Linked DNA regions of Homo sapiens: all the other regions are linked to region 3. Evidence: promoter capture Hi-C in 16 types of primary human blood cells and fetal thymus (Javierre and others, 2016). All regions are on one chromosome and are shown on one strand. Each heading gives the region's core, a stretch centred on a gene start or on the middle of the fragment in contact. The rest is flanking DNA. Distances are from core to core; before and after follow the strand shown. Region 1 holds the start of FAM200A (family with sequence similarity 200 member A). Region 2 holds the start of PDAP1 (PDGFA associated protein 1). Region 3 holds the start of COPS6 (COP9 signalosome subunit 6). Region 4 overlaps ATP5MF-PTCD1 (ATP5MF-PTCD1 readthrough). Region 5 holds the start of SRRT (serrate, RNA effector molecule).

What was found. Contacts are between HindIII fragments. The CHiCAGO score rates a contact against its expected background, and 5 or more counts as called.
Region 1: a contact is called between a fragment that was not itself captured here and the fragment with the promoter of COPS6 in region 3, in 1 of 17 cell types (erythroblasts). The highest score is 6.2, in erythroblasts.
Region 2: the fragment with the promoter of PDAP1 here is called in contact with the fragment with the promoter of COPS6 in region 3 in 2 of 17 cell types (M0 macrophages and erythroblasts); the score reaches 6.1 in M0 macrophages.
Region 4: a fragment that was not itself captured here is called in contact with the fragment with the promoter of COPS6 in region 3 in 1 of 17 cell types (non-activated CD4 T cells); the score reaches 5.6 in non-activated CD4 T cells.
Region 5: a contact is called between the fragment with the promoter of SRRT here and the fragment with the promoter of COPS6 in region 3, in 1 of 17 cell types (naive CD8 T cells). The highest score is 5.5, in naive CD8 T cells.

The regions. Positions count from the first base shown.
Region 1 is chr7:99,552,024-99,554,723 of GRCh38, forward strand. FAM200A (family with sequence similarity 200 member A) reads right to left here and starts at 91. Exons shown (of 2, transcript NM_145111.4): 1 at 1-91. LOC105375422 (a long non-coding RNA gene) reads left to right here and starts at 142. Exons shown (of 3, transcript XR_927801.4): 1 at 142-461; 2 at 1,502-1,608. The HindIII fragment of the contact is 4,575 bases long and covers 1-2,700 here.
Region 2 is chr7:99,407,149-99,409,848 of GRCh38, forward strand. PDAP1 (PDGFA associated protein 1) reads right to left here and starts at 1,449. Exons shown (of 6, transcript NM_014891.7): 1 at 1,388-1,449. The coding sequence starts at 1,400. It overlaps BUD31 (BUD31 spliceosome associated protein), which reads left to right and starts at 1,821. Exons shown (of 6, transcript NM_003910.4): 1 at 1,821-2,097. MIR12119 (microRNA 12119) reads left to right here and starts at 2,024; the gene lies at 2,024-2,116. RefSeq lists a silencer at 1,218-1,277 and an enhancer at 1,488-1,877. The HindIII fragment of the contact is 3,476 bases long and covers 87-2,700 here.
Region 3 is chr7:100,087,670-100,090,369 of GRCh38, forward strand. It overlaps COPS6 (COP9 signalosome subunit 6), which reads left to right and starts at 1,300. Exons shown (of 10, transcript NM_006833.5): 1 at 1,300-1,397; 2 at 1,621-1,746; 3 at 1,946-2,077. The coding sequence starts at 1,322. RefSeq lists enhancers at 1-113, 1,500-2,191, 1,698-2,700 and a silencer at 1,160-1,349. The HindIII fragment of the contact is 8,452 bases long and covers 1-2,700 here.
Region 4 is chr7:99,458,086-99,460,785 of GRCh38, forward strand. It overlaps ATP5MF-PTCD1 (ATP5MF-PTCD1 readthrough), which reads right to left. Exons shown (of 9, transcript NM_001198879.2): 2 at 2,001-2,108. ATP5MF (ATP synthase membrane subunit f) reads right to left here. Exons shown (of 4, transcript NM_004889.5): 2 at 2,001-2,108; 3 at 1,062-1,178; 4 at 110-270. The coding sequence ends at 242. Among named protein-coding and RNA genes, the nearest start is that of ATP5MF, 6.7 kb to the right of the region's middle. The HindIII fragment of the contact is 4,032 bases long and covers 1-2,700 here.
Region 5 is chr7:100,873,766-100,876,465 of GRCh38, forward strand. SRRT (serrate, RNA effector molecule) reads left to right here and starts at 1,338. Exons shown (of 20, transcript NM_015908.6): 1 at 1,338-1,563; 2 at 1,808-1,947. The coding sequence starts at 1,826. RefSeq lists enhancers at 223-887, 888-1,553, 1,130-1,179, 1,390-1,449 and a silencer at 1,590-1,819. The HindIII fragment of the contact is 10,507 bases long and covers 1-2,700 here.

The DNA.
Region 1 (2,700 bases), core at 3-2,502, 540 kb before region 3:
GCTGGGATAGAAGGGGTTGTGACTTTGGGGACCAGGAGCACTAGACTCACATCCAAGCCCCCTGGCCTTCAGAGCCCAGGGAAAGCGTCACAAAAGCCGGAAGTGCGTCACACCCGCCTTCCGGAGCTGCGCTCCGCTTCGGGGTCCTCTCTAGGATCGCGGGAGGACTTTGCATCCCTGTGTAGGGCTCTAATCTCGGGTTTGGGGATCTTGCTCCTCAGCTTGTCCGCTCCGAGGAGGTGCACAGGGCGGGGAAAAAGGGATGAATTTCCCTTTATACCGCCCTGCTCAGATATTTATATGTTCCTTCTATTTTTCTTGATGACAATAATTGTAATAGTTACAATAAAAATAGTGATTGTCTGTGGCAGAGGAGCTGAATGAAACGAGGGTGGAGACAGGAAGATCAAGAATAAATGGTTTCACAAATCGAAGGGATTGTCTCTTGAGACGCTGATTATGTACGTATTGCCAGTTGAATGGGCAGTATTTTCAAATACTTGATCTATAGGCAACAGACGTTCTTTCCAACACTAGATAGTTATAAAATTCTGAGTTTGCCTTATGTTTCCAGGGAGTTTTCAGATTAGCAACGGTGAAATAAGTTGAATTTGAGGCGTTTTTGCTGTCCAAGTGTTATTGTAATAATTAGGGCTTCTATGATTAGATCAAGAATAACTTCACCTTTTATAAAACAGTAACTGAGACCTTGAATGGCTGGGGCATGACTCTAAAAGTTCTGGGCAAGTCTGTGGTACAGCCCAATAAGATAAAAGCCTACAAAAGGAACGGCTACCTGATACAGAGCCTATGATTACGTGGTATCCCGAATTACCTTCTAGACCCTCACTAATGCTCCATTCCTTAGGGGGTTTGATCTTGCTATGGTTGCCATTTTCTACCTACCCACGAGTCTTCTCAATAATCCACTTAAGTGCATCTTTGCTCCATATATATATATACACACATATATATACACACACATATATATACACATATATATACATGTATATATATATACACACACATATATATATATACACACACATATATATATATATATATATATATATATATTTTTTTTTTTTTTTTTTTCCTCCTAGGGCACCGTCAAATCCAATCTTTGCTCCTTTATCACTGGCTGGCTTTCTAACCTACAGTCCTCCGTGATGACATCATAGTCTCAACTTATTCCTCCAGATACATCCTCATATTTCCTTCCAGGGTTCCAAGTCATCGCTAAGAGTCATTACATTGCTACACACTGTATTTTTCTTCTTTGTCTAAAGTCTCTCCTCCCCACCCGTCCCCATTCCTACACTGAAGTGCCTAAAGGGTCCAGGAAGGCAGATTACTGAATGCAGTTGACTGGGTATATGATTTTGTATTTATGTTGTGTGTGTGGCAGGAATTGTAGGCATCTCTATAACGACTCCTTTCTTTGCCTACGGACCTACTGGCACAAGAAACTCAAAGTGGCCTGGTGGTATTCTGTTTTCAGTTCAGTGGCACGATTTAATGTTTCCTAGAGGAAATGTTCTTCCTGGAAATGAGGATCATAACCCAGCTGGCTCCAGATTTCGGAGCGAGGAGGCACAAATTCTACAGGTGAGTGGCTGGGTGTGATAGTAATAGAGGCTACTCCTGTATGCACATAGTCCTACTGGAGACACAATACTATATATCCATTTTGGCCCAATGCATTTCAGCGCATATACCATATTCTGAAGAACTGCTCCCAACTTTGCAAGGCATTACATCTTAATCGCAATTTAGCCCAGTCTTCAACAGGCCATTCCAAAACCCTATCTGGCTAGCTGCTTCTGGATGATGAGTATGCACCATGAATTTTGTAGCTTCGAGTTCACTGTCACACCTCCTTGGCTATCGGTGGGTTCCTTAGTTTCAGGTATGTCAATGGATAAGGCACCCTGTAAGCTCTCAGATGGTGGTGCTGCTGGAGGCAAAGTAGTTGGGGAAGACAAGCTCATTTAGAGCATATATCAATTCTGGTAAGAACAAATTGATGCCCATTCCAAGGTAAAAGGGATCTGATGCACTCAACCTGGTGGTAGCTGGTATCTCTAAGACTCAGTGTTGGTCTCTAATGCTGGCAGGCTGGACACTCCACCATGGTGAGAGTTACATCAGCCTTGGTAAGAGGTAGACCATATTGGCCGGGCACGGTGGCTCACACCTGTAATGTCAGCACTTTGGGAGGCTGAGGTGGGTGGATCACAAGTTCAGGAGTTCGAGACCAGCCTGAGCAACATGGTGAAACACCGTCTCAACTAAAAATACAGAAATTACCTGGGTACGGTGGTGTGTGCCTGTAGTCCCAGCTACTCGGGAGGCTGAGGCAGGAGAATTGCTTGAACCTGGGAGGTGGAGGCTGCAGTGAGCTGAGATCACACCACTGCACTCCAGCCTGGGCAACAGGGCGAGACTCCGTCTCAAAAAAAAAAAAAAAAAAAAAAGAAAAATAAGAGGTAGCCCATATTGTTGGGACCACGCACAGCCTCTATCCCTGCTACCATGGTCTCTGTTCATAAGCCTATTGCATAAACAATAAGATGGTCCCTAACCAACAAGCCAAGCCATTCATCACTGCCTAGGAGTCAATGCATATCCCTACCTTAGGCTACCTCCTCCAAAATATGGCATGGGTGACCAAATGTACCATTGCTCACTGAGATAATT
Region 2 (2,700 bases), core at 199-2,698, 680 kb before region 3:
AGGGAGTTTGATACTTTTAACACCTTCACGGTTTTTTGTGGTTTTCAGATTAACCCAAGAAAATGTAAACCTTGTCTACCCCAAAAAGCTTTTCACAAGCCCAAAGACCATTTAGCTATGAATTCATATTTAAGGTTTTATCGTTGTAACCTCCAACCTTTACCCAAAGTATCCATTAAGTAAAACTTCGGAGGGAGGATGGCTCATTCAGCAACCTCCTTTTACAGATGAAGGGACTGGGGAACAATAGCAGAGAGACTTTTCCAGCCACAGAATAAATCAGTAGAGAGCTAGGTTTAAACACATTTAGCTCTGTAATGCCCAATTATCTCTGGAGTCAGGAAGCGATTTAGGTTTGAAAACGCTACAGGCAGATGTTTCTGTGGGTTGAGTGCATTAACCAATATAACACATGAGCTACCAACACAAATATATTTGTTCTGTGCCAGGAGGTGGCCAGGCACTTTATGAGCGCTATAATTTTACCACCCCGGCCCCAATTCAACAAGCTAAGGATTAGCCCAGTGTTTCAGATGAGGAAGAGGTTAACTTGTTCAGGGCCACAGAATTAGACGTGACATAGCTGGGATTCAAACTGGGGACTATCGATTCTAAAGGGGGAAACAGGATAGAGAACGGGCTAGAAGATAGAGGACGGGCTACAATGGACTGGGCAGTCATGAACCTACTTACAAGATCAAGAGCTGGCAAAGCCTTAAAAATAAGAATAGTTACTGCTTCACTGGGCACTTTTAACGACTGCCTGGCACTGTACTGCGCACTCCACGTGGATTACCTAGTTGAAGCCTCCCAACAGTACTAAGAGGTAGGTACAATCGTTATTCCCATTGGCAAATGAGAAAACGGAGACACAGGAGGTGGAGCGACTGGCTCAAAGGAACACACCGAGCCGCTACCGAACGGGGGAGTCGAAACCAGGTCTGGAAGGCTCATGGGCATCTCCTTAAGTCCTCCTAGGCAGGCCTGGCTGAACCGAAGCCAGAAAAAGCCCACGTTTTACGCGAGAGGCAGGCGGGCCCGGCACAAGCGCGGGACGCGGTGACTCAGTTCCTAGCCAGCCAAAGAGTGGGATAAATTCCAGAACCCCTAGACCCGGAGAAGCGCATCCTAGATCCGGCTTTCTAGGCCGGCGAGGACCCAGAGCTTCCGAAACTCCTCAGACCACTGACGGAGTGACTCTGGGACACCACAGTCCTCAGTTTCCCCATCGGGACAATTGGGCGTCGAGGCCCAGGCCTGGCTCTCAGCCGGTGCGGACAGCCTCCCTCTGCGCTGCTCTCAGAGACGCGCACGGGCTGAGGGGACAGCGGAAGCCGGACCTGGGCCGCCCCTCCAGGCCTGCGGGCCACCGGCGCCCGCCCCTCACCTCCTTTAGGCATTGCGGCTCCGGCGGCTGCGGCGGCGGCGGCGGCGCCTCGAACTGACACCGGAACCGGAAATAGCTTGGGCTCGACTTCTTCCTCCTGGGCCAGCCGCCGCCGCCGCTTCAGTGGCCGCAGTGGCCGCAAGGACCCGGACCTCAGGGAGGCCTCCGCACGAAGTCGGACCGTCCTGCGCGCCGCCTAAGTCCAGGCTTGCCCGTCTGCTGCCAGGCAACAACGCCCCTAGTCTCTCCGTTCGGGAAGACGCGTGGCCCTGCCTGCCACCCACCGGAAGTGAGGGCAAATGGCAACAGCGGCTCTGGAATTCTATACAGGCATTGCTGAGGACACCTAAGATGACGCAATCTCCGCGCGGGTAGGGCGGGGCTCCGCAAGGACCTCATGCCTTAGAGATCGCCTGAAGAGCGGAAGCCTTCTGTCGAGAAGCAGCTACCCAAGCTCCAGGAGCTTCCGGTATGTGTTTTCCCTCTGTTCTCGATTACCTTGGCAACGGCTGAGGCGGGAGACCGGTGGTCTGCACCGTCCTGGAGGGAGATATGAGTGGCTGGACTCTCAGCCAGCCACTGGGATGTGTTCGGGCTTTGGACCTTGAGGCCGGAGAGAGCTCCCGAGAGGAGGCGGCGCCACGTTCGTTCTTCTGAGGGGACGGTAGATTTGGGGGTTTTCCTCTAGGATTCTCGCGCCGTTTCCTCTGGTAGGAACGTCTTCTGTGTTCTGATTGTTTTTCTAAGCTGGGTTCAGATGCTGTCCTTTTTATGAGTTTTCCCTACAATCCTGCACTATCTTCCTTCGCTCCTCCTCGCCTCCTTCCCCTAGCGCCCCAATCTCTCTTACACCTCCCGGCACATCTTTCTTCTCGATCTGATTACCTCCTACGTCCTCTTTCTCCTCGATCTGGTTACCGCCTACCATTTTCACCTCCGAGAGGCCTCTTCTGACTTCCAGGCTGGATCAGGGCCCTCGAATTTCCCTGGGTCGTAGAAAAGCGATCATTCTCTTGTCACAGACTATGCGCCTTGGGGCCGAGACCAGAATTCACCTATTTTTAGCTTCAGCGTAGGGGAGACTAGTGCGAAGACCACTGATTTGGGAGTCAGGAGCCCTCCAGAGTCAGGTTTTGCAAATTCTCAGCTGTGTGACCCTGATTCTACCTTATAGAGTTTGATTCCTCCTCTATATGGTTGTTTTAGAGAGTTCATGAGAGGAGGCTCTGTGGGCGGGGGGGGGGTGGGTCTTTGTAAAGTGTCAGTACAGAAGGGAGTGACTGAATGAATTTGAGAGAGATGAATCTGTTATG
Region 3 (2,700 bases), core at 50-2,549:
TCACTGCAGCTTCCACCTCCCGGGTTCAAGCAATTCTCCTGCCTCAGGCTCCTGAGTAGCTGGGATTACAGGCGCCTGCCACCACGCCTGGCTAATTTTTGTATTTTTAGTAGAGATGGGGTTTCACCATGTTGGCTAGGCTCGTCTCAAACTGCTGACCTCAAGTGATTGTCTGGCCTCGGTCTCCCAAAATGCTGGTATTACAGGTGTGAGCCACCATGCCTGGCCTTGTGGGGTTATTTTCGAAAGTCCTTGAGATAATTCCTATCTCAGACATGCAAGCATGAGACCTTCTCCTTGGTGTTCTCATGGCTCCAATTTGTTTGGACCTGACAATGTGATTTTGTCCTGGTATCTGCAACTTTCACAAGATGGAGCAACTAACTCAACACCAGATTCCACCCCTAATTATTCCTTCATTCACTCAAAAAGTATCTAGGCTCCAATGTGTCAGGCACCGTGTTGGTCACAGGGGATACCATGATGAACAAGAGAAGGAACCACAGGCTTTTGAATGGGAAACTAAAGCATGTGAAAAACACACGGAGAGCTGGGTGCGGTGGCTCATGCCTGTAATCCCAGTGCTTTGGGAGGCTGAGGATGGAGGATCTCTTCTGCCCGGGAGTTGGAGACCAGCCTGGACAACCTAGTGAGACCCCCGTCTCTATCAAAATAAAAACAAATAATAAAATTAGCTGGGTGCGGTGGGGTGCGCCTGTAGTCCCAGCTACTCGGGAGGCTGAACTGGGAGGATCACTTGAGCCCAGGAGTTTGAGGGTGCAGTGAGCTGACATCAGGCCACTGCACTCCAGCCTGGGCGACAGAGCGAGACCCTGTCTCAAACAAAACAAAACAAACCACCACCACCACCAGACATGAGGGCCAGTGCAGCTGAAGCCTGAAGATCAAGGGCTAGAAGAGGCCAGGCCGGGGCCAGATCAGGCAGGGCCTTGCAGGTTGTGGTTAGTTGTTTGGATTTTATTGTGAGGGAAATAACACGACATGTCATTCCTTCTGCAACAGCCTTAAGAACTAGGCGTTCTTATCCCAATTTCACAGACGAGGACGATCAAGTCGTTAATTTGTCAAAGGTCACCCGCAGGCGACAGGCGGGGACAGGGTCTGGGAAAACCCGCTAGGCACCGAGGCCCAGAGGGCGTCGGGCGTCCCCGCACCGAGTGCCGCCCGCCGCGACCCGGGAACTGCCTGCTCCCCGGACGCCAGGCCCGCCGCACGCCGCGGGGACACCGAACATGCGCCGCTCGCCTTACGGAAGCCGGGAAGGAAGGGGGCGGGGCCGAGGCTGGCGGGCGCGGGGAAAATGGCGGCGGCGGCGGCGGCGGCTGCAGCTACGAACGGGACCGGAGGAAGCAGCGGGATGGAGGTGGATGCAGCAGGTAACGGGCCGTGCGGGGGTGGCTTCCGGAGACCTCCTTCAGGGGTTCGTTGAGGCCTCCCTGTGCTCCCGGGAGAAGGGAGGAGGGCGGAGCAGCAACATCTTTCCCTGGGATAAGTTACGGGAGGAAAGTGTGGCCCGGGCTCCGCCGTCCCCCACTGCCATCTCCAGGGAAGAACGTGGGGCCCGGACTCTCACCCTCTCTCCTTTCCCTCCACCCTTAGTAGTCCCCAGCGTGATGGCCTGCGGAGTGACTGGGAGTGTTTCCGTCGCTCTCCATCCCCTTGTCATTCTCAACATCTCAGACCACTGGATCCGCATGCGCTCCCAGGAGGGGCGGCCTGTGCAGGGTGAGTGTTGGGCATAGACTCCAGTCTCTTCTCCTTGCTCACCTCCCCCAGGCAGTGGTCTTTTCCCCTTCCTCTACTGGAGCCAATTCCCCCTCCCCCAAATCATCGTTTCCCCAATACATGGTTCCCACTGATCTCAGACCCTCAGGTCATAGAAGTTTCTTTACCCTCACCTTTTCCATGTCATTCTCTTTCCCAGTGATTGGGGCTCTGATTGGCAAGCAGGAGGGCCGAAATATCGAGGTGATGAACTCCTTTGAGCTGCTGTCCCACACCGTGGAAGAGAAGATTATCATTGACAAGGAATATTATTACACCAAGGAGGAGCAGTGTGAGAGTGGAATAGATGTGGGGAAGAGGAGTGGGAGTTAAAAAAAAAATGTACAGGGTGGGGAAGATGGAGAGGGTTGGAAAGAAACAGGAGAGGAGACCAAGAACAGGGGAGAAAAAGTGAAGAGTAGCTGGAGAGATCTCAGAAAAAGAAAACGTTCAGAGTTCTTTCTCAAAAGAAAGCAAAGGATGAGAGGAGACAGGATAGAAGGGAGTAGTTATTCTAAACTGAGCCAGGATTTGAGGAGGGAGGAGAGAAGCTGGTGAAAATACACCAGGAGCTTCACATTGAGGAAGGATGGTTTAAAGAATTACTATGTCAGGCCGGGCTCAGTGACTCATGCCTCTAATCCCAGCACTTTGGGAGGCCGAGGTGGGTGGATCATGAGGTCAGGAGTTCAAGACCAGCCTGGCAAACATAGTGAAACCCCACCTCTACTAAAAATACAAAAATTAGTCTGGCATGGTGGTGCGTGCCTGTAGTCCCAGCTACGCGGGATGCTGAGGCAGGAGAATTGCTTGAACCTGGGAGGCGGAGGTTGTGGTGAGCTGAGATCATGCCACTGCACTCCAGCCTGGGCAACAGAGCGAGATTCCGTCTCAGAAAAAAAAAAAAAAAGAATT
Region 4 (2,700 bases), core at 41-2,540, 630 kb before region 3:
CCTTCACCGGTCAACGGCCTGGAAAGACGACCTCCCCCCACCTTGTGCCACAGGAGCCCCTGGAACATGGGATAATGGCTACGGCAGACAGGCAGGCAATCAGCACACGTACCAGTCATGTTTTATTTGGAGGTTAATTCCTATTAGGATATGAAAGGATTCAGCAACGATTGAGATTGTGTTCCTCACGGAGGGGCTCGGGCCAAGGTCGTGGGGTGGGGGGGTGCAGAGTGTGTCCTCTTCAGTGGTATTTGCGGAGCCGCTCGTGCTCTGAAGTCAGGAAGGCAAGATGGTAAGTATCTTAAAAGGTTACAGTGAAGGCACAGCATGGCAGGAAGCAGGCTGAGATCACACAAAGCCTTCCTGAGAATTCCCTTCAGAGATGACCCATGACCCGCCTGCCGGTGTCTCTGCAGAATCAGCAGACCCGGGGGGCACAAAGACACCTCAGGAGCCAACCTGCCACCTGGCCAACCACTTTCTTTCCAGAAGGAACAGAGGGAACACACGCTCAGACAAACAGCCCCAGAGAACCCGTCCTTCAGAGGCAGGACCGCCCTGGTGCCACAGAATGGGAGTGAGGTGGGGGTAGGGGGTGTACACTACACTGTCAGAAACAGCCTAGTCAGAGGCTGCCACCGACACCTCCCGCCAATCTCCCACCAGACAAGCTCCTCTCAAGCCTCAGAGCCGGAACAGCCATGCTTTTCTGGGGTACCAGATTATCCCACTCAACTCATTTCTCTTTCTGCATTGGCTACTAGGAAAATCGAGCCAAATTTTCACAGTGTGCTGTATTTTAAAGAATGCTTCTAAGTACTCTCTTTACCCTGGCTTCATCTTGATTTTCCTGTGTTCTCTTTGTCACAATTTTCTCATTTCAAACAATATCCCACATACTGTACTCTGATAGGTCCCTCCAATTCTTTTAGGTGGAAACATAAGGAACTTTAACTAAAGGTCCCTCAGCCTCAGAAGAAGGTGGGCTGCTGTATCTAATGAAATCAGTCACCACCACCCTCTCATGGGAACTAAAGGCAAGACGCCGCAGAGGCACTCACTGAGATGCTTGTAGGAAAAGGAGTAGCTAAAGAGCACGTAGCATGCCAGCACCATGGTAATCCCCGAGATGCTCCCCTTCTTCACATTGATGTACTTGTTGTAGTACCGGTAGTAACCTGCAAACGCAAGAGGCGCTCACTGCCCTGCTGGGCTTCACATTTGAGTGAAGTTGAGCACACAGTTGAGTCTGGCTGACATTCAGGGACCTAGTCCTGCTCTGGCTGTTTAAGCCCCTCGCCCTGCATTCACTGGCTGATAAAGATGACAAGCACAAATGCCAGTAAGGTCTCTCATCCCCATAGCCTGAACTATAAGCACATACCAGCTCCTGAACTAGGCCTACCTGGATTCCACCTCTCCCCTTTGGCTGTGAGCTTATAGCCTCCTGAGTAGCTGGGACTACAGGCATGCACCACCACAGCCAGCTAATTTTTCTTGTGTGGTTTTTTTTATAGAGATGGGGTCTCTCCATATTGCCTAGGCTGGTCTAAACTCGGCTCAAGCAATCCTCCAGCCTTGGCCTCCCGAAGTGCCGGGATTACAGGCATAAGCCACCACACCAGGCCAAGATAGGCCATTTCAAATATTTGTCCTGAAGTTCTGGCAGGGAGGAGAGCATCATATTATAGACTAATGCCCACTACGGTTCCAATTCATTTTCCTCTTAAAGAAGTCTTAGGATTTCTCTAAGACAGAGGCAGACATACTGATTCCAAGCAACAGGAAACATGTTCTTGGCTGTAATATCTCAGAGCCAGCCTTTGAAAGGGCCAATCAACCACAGAAGTCCAAGGCCTAGCATCCCTCCCTGTCATCCTCTACATAACTTACTGCTTTCAGACAACAAGGCCTTCATTGCCCAAATTAATTCATGGCAAAAAAGAGATCTGAAGACCCAGAGATTTGCTTTCATTTACAGACATCCACAAGGCTCTGACCTCTTTGAAACGCTCCGAAAATGCCACTAGGACTGAAGTCCCGCATCAAGATCCAGCTTGGCAGCTCCCCCAGTTTGACCTCCAGAAGTTTCTTGTCCTTCACTGGTACTGAAACGGAAGAGTGAGAAAAAATACCCACTGAATAATCTCCCAGTAACACATATGGCATCCTTTCCTGCCACTGCTTCAACTATGCAATAAAGGTGCATAATGCAATTACACAGAGGCTGCACATACACAATATTATGAAGAAATATGTCACATCAAGCCCACTATTTTAAGACTGAGTCTATACAATAGCAGAACTGCTGCAGGGACAGCTTTATTAACCAACAGGACGTCTGAGTAACAGCTTGCTGGGAGTAACTCCAGAAAAGGGTCTCGAAAAAAGCAGTAACGTGGCGGACAGGAAAGATTACTGCAAAGCTAACATTTACTTGACATTATTAGCTTATTTAATCTTCACAACAAGCACTTCATGTCTTTACCTTAAAGGAGGGGAGGGGGGATAGACTCAGAGAGGTTGGGCCACGTGACCAAAGTCACACACACAACGTGGGGTCAGGACTGGCCCTCCTATGTCCCTGAAGCCAATATGAGGGTGCCCTGTCCAACCCTGGGGATGTGTCGCTGGAGAACGTACAAGAGGGGATGTGGAAGGAGAGCGGTGTGACGGTGCCAAGTGTCTCACTCAGACTTG
Region 5 (2,700 bases), core at 88-2,587, 790 kb after region 3:
TCTGCCCGCTTCACCCAACCAAAGTGCTGGGATTACAGGCGTGAGCCACCGCCCTTGGCCACTGTCTGCATTTTTACATGTGAGGATGTCAGAGCTGAGAGGTGACTCCCCCAGATTGCATGGTTCTTAAATGGTGGAACCTGGGTCTTTTTGACTCAGGTCCAGTTTTTTTTGACAACTCTTGTAATCCGTCACTACCCTCCTCTCAGTGCTGGGAGCAAGCACGCCTCAGGGAGGAGGCAAGATTTCCTCTATGTATCTATTTTGAGACAGGGCCTCACTCTGTTCCCCAGGCTAGAGTGCAGTGGTGCAATCAAGGCTCACTGCAGCCCTGAACTCCTGGGCTCAAACAGTCCTCCTGGCTTAGCCTCCCCAGTAGCTAGGACCACAGGGGCATCCCACCAAGCCCAGTTATTATTTTTTTGTGTGTAGATGGGATCTTGCTATGTTGCCCAGGCTAGTCCTGAACTCTTGGGCTTAAGTCCTCCCTCCTCGACCTTCCCAAGTGCTGGGATCACAGGTGTGAGCCAATGTGCCTGGCCCTAAATATTCTGTAAAGGGGCCTTGCTATGTTGCCCAGGCAGGTCTCCAACTCCTGGGCTCAAGTGATTCTCCCACGTCGGCCTCCCAAAGCGCTGGGATTGCAGGCGTGAGCCATCTCAGCTGGTCTTCCTATTAAGTCTCACACTCAATTCACTGAGAGGGGCCTTGGTGTTACTCCCGGGGGTGGTAATCCATTGAATCTGGGCGGTCCATACTCTGTTTAGGGCGTTAACTTACAGCCTATTTCATCCAAATACTGAGCGGGGTTAAGACTGAGATCTGCCAATTTTACTTAAAGACGGGGCGTCTTTGTCGAGGAAAAGCAGGAACGGCGGACTTTGCATTTAGTGCGCACTGTGGCACCCAATTTTGGCTGGATATTTGGAGCAGAAAATGGTGGGATACGATGCTTTAAAATGGTTGCTTCCACCTTCCATCCCCTAAGCGCCCGCGCTTCCCAAGCCCACGCCCTGCCCGAGGAGGGGACGAAATCACCCCCGGTGAGGTCAGGAGGCCCGTGGGGGGAACATGGCTGGATGAGAACCGTCTTAGGACCCCGACACATCTGGGGTCGCGCGATCCTCGACTTCCGCTCTCCCTTCGCGCCCAGAGGGCTTGTTCGCCTCCCGAGGCCGCGCTTGGCCCAGCCGAGGTCCCGTAGTTCCTAACGCTCGAGCCGTTATCGTCTCGAAAAGCCGCGCGAGACTTGCGAGATCCCCGCCCCTTTCCCATCACGCCCTGCTCTCCCCGCCCTTCGCGCTCGGTTTGTTAGTTCCAGTTCCGGCCGCGAGGGTGGAGCTTTGTGCCTCGGAGGCGTGGGTGACGCAGGCGCAGCGCGGGCTGCGCGCGCTACTGCCCATCCCCGGTTGTCCCACTTTTGTTCGCCTCTCTTCGGCCCTCTACTCAAGAGCTCCGTCTCCGTCTCGCCCTCCTCGAAGTCCTCGTCGCGCGCCCGCGACCCAGGTCGCCCTGAAATCTAGCCCGTCCGAGCGCGAGTCCAACGGCCGCGGCCGCACCAAGGTGGGGGAGGGGAGGAGCCTGGGGGGCCCCGCTGGGGCGGGAGAGGAACCGGGGTCCACGGGGGCGGGCGCGGAGAAACTCGGGGCGAGTGGAGGTGTTGGAGCCGCGTTCTCAGGCCTAGGATGGTGGGGGCCGCGGAGGGCTGGCCTTGGCGGGAGGGAAGCGGGCGAGCTGCCCGCGAGGGACGGTCCCTTCCTCCGCTCGTCCTTTTGCACCACTCCTACCGCCTCTCCCCGGTCCCCAGGCCCCCTCAGACCGTGCCATGGGTGACAGTGATGACGAGTACGATCGAAGGCGCAGGGACAAGTTCAGAAGAGAGCGCAGCGACTACGACCGTTCCCGCGAGAGAGATGAAAGACGTCGAGGGGACGATTGGAATGACAGGTGAGCCGTTTTTAACTTCATCTTGTCCCCGTTTCATGCCGTTTCACTCCACCCGCGTCGCTTTTCTTTCTCCCCCTTGTAATTTTTATGAGGGCGAATCCTATGAAATGGCTCATTGGACCGTTTTCTGTGGTTCAGCCTATTTGCTGTTGGCCAAATAACTAGCTGTGGCTTGGTTTTTGAAATTCTCTGCAGATCAGAGCTATAGAGCTAAGAGTTTGAGTATGAAGAAGCACTGTTTATACATGCACGAAAAGCGTGCTTTTTTGCTTTTTTTTGTTTTGTTATTGAGATGGGGTCTTGTTCTGCTGCCCTGGCTGGAGTGCATTGATGCAGTCGTAGCAGCCTCCACCTCCCGGGCTCAACCGAGCCTCCCGCCTCAGCCTCTTGAGAAGCTGGGACTCCAGGGGGAGGCCATCACGCCCGCCTAACTTTTAAAAATTATTATTGTTATTTCGAGACAGAGTCTTGCCCTGTCGCCCAGGCTGGAGTGCAATGGCGCAATCTTGGCTCACTGCAACCTTCGCCTCTGGGGTTCAAGTAATTCTCCTGCCTCAGCCTCCCGAGTAGCTGGGATTACAGGCACCTGCCACCACGCCCGTCTAATTTTTGTATTTTTAGTAGAGACGGGGTTTCACCATGTTGGCTAGGCTGGTTTGGAACTCTCGACTTTAGGTAATCCACCCAGCTCGACCTCCCAAAGTGCTGGGATTACAGGCATGAGCCAGTGCTTGGTCTAAAATTATTTTTTGT